2 separate regions of the Homo sapiens genome follow, and region 2 is linked to region 1. The links are contacts of gene promoters, found by promoter capture Hi-C in human tissues and cell types (Jung and others, 2019). All regions are on one chromosome and are shown on one strand. The core of a region is centred on a gene start or on the middle of the fragment in contact, and the rest is flanking DNA. Distances in the headings are between cores, read along the strand shown. Region 1 holds the start of PCOLCE2 (procollagen C-endopeptidase enhancer 2). Region 2 has its middle 17 kb from the start of PAQR9.

Region 1 (4,058 bases), core at 594-3,093:
CGAGGACTGCAAATCATTACCAGAAAGTGAATTGAGCAATATTTCCCTTTATAATTTAAAACTATGACTTTCAAATAAACAATTATCTAAAAACACTTATGCTATTAGATAGCATATTCTTGAAATGCGTGCAAAATCAACAACCATTTATTCTCCTCTTCCCTGTTTTAAAGACATTTTTATTGGGTTGAGAGTGTTTCAGGATATAAAGCAGTTTGCCAAATTCTGTCACCCTTTTTTTTAATGTCATAAAGGGTGTGGTGCCTGTAGAGAAGTTTTGAAAGTTGTACTTTATGATGTTTTTGCCTTCACTTTTTAAAAAAATGGTAAGATAATCTAAGTCCTGTCCGTATATTCTGGTTCCTAGTATAGGCTTCAGGGTGCACTCACTATGAAAAGTCAGAATATTTCCTGTAGCCAGTTTTACTTACTTCCTTGCCAGGAGTGTTTAGGTTCTTTTTTTTTTTTTTTTCTTTTTTGAGATGGAGTCTCACTCTGTCGCCCGGGGCTGGAGTGCAATGGCGTGATCTCGGCTCACTGCAACCTCCGCCTCCCGGGTTCACGCGATACTTCTGCCTCAGCTTCCCGAGTACCCGGGATTACAGACGCACACCGCAACACCTGGCTAATTTTTTGTATTTTTAGTCGAGGCGGGGTTTCACCATCTTGGCCAGACTGGTTTCGAACTCCTGACCTCGTGATCCGCCCGCCTCGGCCTCCAAAAGTGCTGGGATTACAGGCGTGGGCCATCGCGCCCACCCGTGTTTAGATTCTTAACAGCTCATTATTAGAAATAAAGTCTCGATAAGAACTACTTTAATACTTAATTTTCTTGCTTAGAAAGGTGAAAACAATTTAGAAGGAACAACGTGAGGCATCAAAGTTAAGCTGTATCTCCCATAGCTGGTGATTATTAAAAATCTCTATGAATCTAGTCTGTTCCTGTCATTCTTTTATTAATCCCTGGTTATTGGGAAGCTCTTAACAAAATAAATGTTTAAAATTATATTTCTGTAATTAAGTAAAAGAGAGTATTGATTCCACAAGGCTAGAATTGTTCGTCTAAGAAAAACGAATTCTCCGTAAATTTTAACCCGTTAATACCACAGAAAGATGCTGTTGGAAAGGTCTAAGAACAGAGAGATGCAAGCAGAGAAACACCATTTTCAGAACATGACATGGGATGGTGAGATTTGCTGATTTGGTTCCGTCTTCATTATCTGACATTTAATGACAGTTCACACAGAAATCGCTCGCCTGAAAACCCGTGTTTAAATCCCGGCACAGAGACTGTCTTCCTTGTCATTGTCATACCAGTAAAAAAAAGAAAAGTATCTAGAGAGAGAGAGAGGAGAATAAGCACAGAAGTTAAAATACAATAAAATCCCTTTTCCCTTTCTTTCCTTGGATCTGGGTTTTGAAGGAGACAAAGAAGGACCCCCAGGCTTTCCAGCAGCCAGCAAGCGCTATTACTTTTTATTTAAAAGCAACTGGGAAAAACATTCCCCAAAGCAAAACCAGAAGCCCTCCCTGAGAATCGTCTCTGGGCGTCGGGGCCCGGGCCGCTGGGGTGCCACTCCGCAAGGGGTTCCTCTTCTCCCCGGGGTCCCTGAGGGCTGGACGAGAGAGGACCCGTCGGTCCCGGGGTGCCGGGAGGAGACGTTCGCCCGCCCCACGAGAGGGGGCGGCTCTGGCCTCGGAGCCGCCCCTCCTGCCGCCGGAGAACAAACGGGATATTCAGCAGTGGCCTGTGGCTGCCAGAGCAGCTCCTCAGGGGAAACTAAGCGTCGAGTCAGACGGCACCATAATCGCCTTTAAAAGTGCCTCCGCCCTGCCGGCCGCGTATCCCCCGGCTACCTGGGCCGCCCCGCGGCGGTGCGCGCGTGAGAGGGAGCGCGCGGGCAGCCGAGCGCCGGTGTGAGCCAGCGCTGCTGCCAGTGTGAGCGGCGGTGTGAGCGCGGTGGGTGCGGAGGGGCGTGTGTGCCGGCGCGCGCGCCGTGGGGTGCAAACCCCGAGCGTCTACGCTGCCATGAGGGGCGCGAACGCCTGGGCGCCACTCTGCCTGCTGCTGGCTGCCGCCACCCAGCTCTCGCGGCAGCAGTCCCCAGAGAGGTAACGCGACCCCTGCCCGGGCTCCCTTTCTCTCCTTTCCCTTCCTCCACCCCTGCAGCCTCGCCTGCTGCTTTACTCAACCCGCTTCGGCGCGCCTGGGTGACCCAGCGCTCGACCCTGCGCTCCCGCGCGGTGCAGGCGTCCGCCACCCTCGGGTAGGCTAAGCCCGGGACTTCGGGACCCATCCTTGCTCGCGGGGCTCCCTCCTGGGTCCCCAGCCCGGCCTGCCGGATGGCCCTGCAGCTGGCTTGGCCACCACGTGGCGGGGCTTAATCTGACTTGTGTCTCCCCTCTCCTCGTGTCTATGGGGCCAGAGGGAAGCACTGGGGCCCAAATATGTGGATTTTGGTTTACCGCTGTTTTTTTTCCTTCCCCGAGAGGCTTTGCCCAGAGACGTAAACTAGGGAACAACCCTAGCGGCGCGGCGCCTAGGGAGCCGCTCCGGAAAGTTAACTCTTCGCCAACCTCTGGAAGGCCCCAGGAGCTGGGCTGTGGGACCTGCCCGGTGGCCAACTTTGGCATCACCTCTTCAGCCTCCATCAACATCAGCCTCCCTTTCGATGGGAAGCTCTGCCAATGGCGAGTGATTTTCAGAAAGGGGGAGGAGAACTGGGCATCTCTCCAAATATGGGAACGACAAACTTTTTTTATATTAACCAATTGCTTGCCTGTCTTTCTTTAAAACCATGCTTCTCATTCAGCCTGGCTCTTACCTTCTCTCCCACTCCCCCAGTTAAATTGATGTATTTACCATTTTCCTACAAGACTTTGCCACAATGCCGAGGACTTGATTATACATATATATAATCTTGTGTTATTATGATGGAGACAGATGGCGCTGGACTGAATGCTTTGTCAGGCTATAATTTAAATATTCTAGGAGCTAGCAAATTTTCAGATCCCTTATATGGTGCAAGCATTGATTAATCAACATTAACTTTTATTTATATTAATAGGCTACACCTTTCTGAAGGTAACATCAGATTGTTAGACCATGTTTCAAATTACATTATCTTTTCTTCTTTTATGTTCCCAGACCTGTTTTCACATGTGGTGGCATTCTTACTGGAGAGTCTGGATTTATTGGCAGTGAAGGTTTTCCTGGAGTGTACCCTCCAAATAGCAAATGTACTTGGAAAATCACAGTAAGCATTTTTTAAAAAGGTATTCTCCTGGAAGTGGGTGTTGGCAACAGTGTGAGGCTGCTGCCTTTTTCCTCTGGTGTTAGGATTTGAGTAAGAGGCAAATGCCTGAAATAGTGAAATGTTGGATTTACCCCAACTATTGGGAAGATTTTTATTAATATAATAGATCTAGTCGTGTCCTGCATTAGTGATTACAAAGGGCACAAGATAATGCTTGAAGGAATAAATTCTCAGAGCAGATGTGTTTCTGAAAGCCCAGTGTGACTCAGTTGAGTTTTATAGATTCATAATTAAAGCTGTTTTCAGTCAAAGGCCTGTTGTAATGACCTTCATAAGTTTTTTGTTGCTCGTGCCTTCATAAATTCCCAGTGGGAAATGGAAGATCAAAGATAGTGCTTTGACTACTCTATGCTCATTAGGAAAGGAAAAAGAAAAAAAATAAAAAAAGCCCACTTAATGTTCCTGGGTTGAAACCACCTCTAAAGGCAGTCTAAGAATAGAGAATGGGGGGGTGGGAATCTAAATAGCAGCCAAGGGCCAATAAAAAGTCCATGCTGATTAGTAATAACATAGATTATGCTGAGTCAAGATAAGCTGGATTTAGAGACAGCCATATATTTTTTAACTGATTTAGAGTCAACTAGAGTGAGTCATCTTTCCAGTCAGCATAGCATTGACTGTTACCTTCTTCACTTTTTCGTTGTTGGGAAGTTGTTTAGTAATTGAATACGTTGGTTCACTGAGAGCTTCTTTCAGTCAGATTGTGCCACTGGAGGACTTAGATTTTTTAAAAAGTAGCCC
Region 2 (4,058 bases), core at 926-3,425, 57 kb before region 1:
ACTGTTTGACAAAGTCATTTTAGTCCCCAGGCCATCATTTGCGCTATTGTGGCAGGGGAACTGTCCTAGAAGGATGAGTCACAGCCACACTGAGTCAGACTCAAGTATGGCGAAGATGAGGTTCTCCCCTTGTTCTTGGGCATAACAAAATGGGTCTTGTCATACGAATACCAGAGTATCTTTTAAAAAAAACAAACATTTTTCTCCTGGTCCTCGCTGTCCAGTCCCGTAGCTGGTTTTGACAGACATCTGCCAAGCTTCAGTGTCACTTGGCTGCCACTAAAATCACTGGTGATTATTCACAATCTCCCTTAAGAAATCTCTAACAGGAAACAGGTGCCATCCTGAAAAATGGGACGGTGTGTCTGGAACAGCTGCCCAGGTGTTCGGAGCATCTTAGGGTCCAGCCTGGTCCTTGTGTCTTGGTGCACTGTCCCCACTGTCCTTGCGGTGGACATGGAGTTGGATGACTGCCCAGGCAGGCAACCTTGTGGAGGGGCAGTCTGAAGTTCCTTAACAGTAGGGAGGAAAAAGCGGGACTTCCAAGGTAGGGATGGGGGATTCTGACATTCCAGTGGTCACACACACACACACACACACACACACACACACAACTCAGAAACACCCTGGTCACCGTGAGACGATCTCCAAGCTGTAAGGGTTCCCAGAAAGGACCGTTGGAGAACCATGGGAGAGCTGAGGGGAACTGGGCACAGGCTGTCAGGAGTGGGGACAGGCAGGAAAATGGCTCGGGCTGGACTCCCGCAGGCCGATGCAGGCTCAGATATGCTGCCTGCGGGATGTCGTGCTTTCCAGGCGCGGGAGGCGTGGCAGGGGCCGGGGCGCCTGTCGGGCGAGGCAGCATCTCCTGGGGCAGTCCCTGAGCTCCTCGGTCGCGGGCAGGTAGATCCGACACAGCTGGGCGCAGGCGGCGGGGTCGGCCTGGGAGTCGGCTTGGGTCTCAGGGAGAGCGCGGGGAGGCCAGCATGGCAGGGCGCTGCGGCCTCGGAAGGGGAGCCAGGCAGGCGCCGAGAGGACACGAACTCGAGGCCTCCAGCGGCGCAGAGGAGAGGGAGTAGGCGCCGGGCTGGGCACGCCAAGGTGCTCTAAGTTCCCGCCTGCCCCTTCCTCCTCCTGTGGCTTCTTGTGTCTTGCATGGGCGGATCTGGAGTGGGTTCGACTTCTCGCGCCGTTATTTCATCCTCTTATCACCTTAGGCAACCTACTCTGCCTCTCATCTTCCATTTCCTCATCTGTAAAATAGAGCGGGAAGTATTTCTTACTTCATAGTGGTATTGTCAGAAGCGTTTGAACCAGAGCAACTCCATCTTGAATAGAGGAGGCTGGGCGAAATAAGGCTGAGACCTACCAGGCTGCATTCCCGGGAGGTTAGCCATTCTAAGTCACAGGATGAGACAGGAGGTCGGCACAGGATACAGGTCATAAAGAATTTGCTGATAAAACGGGTTGTAGTAAACAAGCCAGCTAAAACCCACCAAAACCAAGGTGGCAAAGGGAGTGACCTCTGGTCGTCCTCACTGCTACACTTCCACCAGTGCCATGACAGTTTACAAATGCCATGGCAACGTCAGGAAGTTACCCTATGTGGTCTAAAAAAGGGAGGCATGAATAACGCCCCCCCCCCCACGTTTAGCATACAATCAATAAATAACCATAAAAATGGGCAACCAGCAGCCCTTAGGGCTGCTCTGCCTATGGAGTAGCCATTCTTTTATTCTTCTACTTTCTTAATAAACTTGCTTTCACTTTACTGTATGGACTTGCCCTGAATTCTTTCTTGTATGAGATTCAAGAACCCTCTCTTGGGGTCTGGATCTGGACCCCTTTCCATTCACAGCATGAGGATACAATGAATGGATGTAAAGCAATTTTGCCCCGCACCTGGCGCACCATAACTGTTCAGTACATTGTAGCTAGTGTTTTTATTAGCTCAAACTCTTTAATTTTTGTAGAAACGGGGATCTCACTTTGTTACCCAGGCTGGTCTCGAACTCCTGGTCTCAGAGAATTCTCCCACCTCAGCCTCCCAAAGTGCTGGGATTACAGACAAGAACCACTGTGCCTGGCCTAGGTCAAACTCATAACACACCCAATCCATGAGGATCCAAGGGACCTGTGTGCAAGAACTGGATTAAGATTTTCTCTTTAGACCAGTGATGTCCAACAGAAATATAATGTAAACCATGTATGTATTTCTTTAATTTTCTAAAGCCACAAAAAAGTGTAAAACTGTACAAACAATTGGATGAATTGAATTAGTGGAATTATAGGTGTTAACCATGTTAATTTGTTTCAAGCATGAGATAGTGACAGGGTTGTAGTGCTTATACTTAGATTGAGTGCTAGAAATGTTGGTAATGAGGAATCCAGCAAAGATACTGCCAATTGTTAGGTGTTTAATTGATTTTAGTAATGTTTTCTTTAAGCAACTATATCCAAAATATCACTTCAACATGTGACATTAGCCACATTTCAAGAGCTTCAGTCTCCCCTGTGCTAGACAGCACAGCTCTAGATATCTCTTCCCTAAGATCTCTGTGATACGGACAAGAGACAGGGAAATACGGGGTAGAAGAGAATGGTTCCCCAGCAAAGGCCCTACCCTTAAGCCTGGAGACTCTCAGCCCTAAGTAGGAACAGGCATTTCTGTTACCTTTTGGCCCACGATGCTCCCCAGTCCTGTACCCATAGAAACCCCAAACCCCGGGCTCCAGAAGCAGATGAGCCAACAAGGAGACGGGGAGACAAGCAGACAAATGGCATAGCAGAGAAAAAGAAGAGGAGGAACATCTGAATGCCAAGAGTTCAGCTGGGAGTGGTCAGAGAGGAGTTCCACTGCTGAATGGCCAAACTCCAGGGGACGATCATCTTCCCACTCCATCCCCCTTCCACCTCCCCATCCATCCTACTGAGAGCCACCTCCACTACTCAATAAAACCCTACATTCATCCTTCAAGCCTGTGTGTGACCAGATTCTTCTGGGATGCTAGGCAAGCGCTCAGGATATAGAAAGCTGTCACCCTGGCCCTTTGCCCTTGCAAAAAAGTAGAGCATCCATTGAGCTGGTTAACACTTAAGCTGTCCATGGACAGCAAGGCTGAAAGAGCATTGTAACACCGGGAGCACAGGCACCCACCCCTAGACACTACCACAGGGCCAGAGCCCAAAGCACTTGCCCTGGCTCCTGCACCTGCCCGTCTGCATGCTGCCATTCCTGTCAGGGGTTTGAGCAGTGACAGTAACCAAACAGGCGAGCCACAACCCTGCTGCACATCCTGCAGGTGGATCAGAGAACTCTCCCATTTCATATGAATGCCCAGCTCCTTTCCACCGTTTGGATCTCAACTCAAATGTCACCACCACCTTTGACCACTTATCTAAAGTAGGTTCCCCTTCCCCTTCTCCAGGAGCTGTGGCTCCTTCCTGTAGTCCCAGCTACTAGAGGCCTTGAGCCCAAGAATTTGAACCAGGCTGGGGATATAGTGAGACCCCTATCTCTAAAACAGAAAGAAGAAAAAAACAGCTGCAGTTGCCTCTGTCCCCTTCATGCCCACATACATGTACATTCACCTGGCTTCACCCTGTTTTACTTTCTACACACCATATATCACCACGTGAAATTCCGTTGCTTATTGTTTCCCTTTCCTTGTTAGAACCTAAGTTCTCAGGCTGCAGAGTGAGATCCTCAGCACCCAGCACAGTATGTGGCACATTATAGGCACTTATTTAATATTTGCATGAATTAATGAATGAACAAACGAATACATTACTAGACGTGGGAGTCCTTGTTGGAGGAAACAAGTTTGATATAATATTGCCCTAGTTTCTAAAAACGAAACCTCCAAACAATGAAAAAAGCAGCTTCATTTTCTATTTATGTCAATACTGCCCCAGTAACAGTTAAAATCAATGTATCAGGAAGTATTCTTTACTTTCTGTTTGTGCTTCTGAGTCAGGAAAGTAAGTAGTTTTGCCTTCCGATAAGTGAACAAAATTAGAAGAATTGATATTTGCATGTTTTCTGGGATATGAAATTC

What was found. Contacts are between HindIII fragments. The study calls those that stand out against the background at their distance.
Region 2: a contact is called between a fragment that was not itself captured here and the fragment with the promoter of PCOLCE2 in region 1, in 1 of the 25 tissues and cell types used here (aorta).

Annotation. Positions count from the first base shown.
Region 1 is chr3:142,886,868-142,890,925 of GRCh38, reverse strand. PCOLCE2 (procollagen C-endopeptidase enhancer 2) reads left to right here and starts at 1,843. Exons shown (of 9, transcript NM_013363.4): 1 at 1,843-2,112; 2 at 3,149-3,257. The coding sequence starts at 2,030. LOC124909443 (a long non-coding RNA gene) reads right to left here and starts at 2,662. Exons shown (of 2, transcript XR_007096122.1): 1 at 2,467-2,662; 2 at 159-1,335. RefSeq lists a silencer at 1,851-1,900. The HindIII fragment of the contact is 12,495 bases long and covers 1-4,058 here.
Region 2 is chr3:142,944,395-142,948,452 of GRCh38, reverse strand. No RefSeq gene overlaps it. Among named protein-coding and RNA genes, the nearest start is that of PAQR9, 17 kb to the left of the region's middle. The HindIII fragment of the contact is 4,592 bases long and covers 1-4,058 here.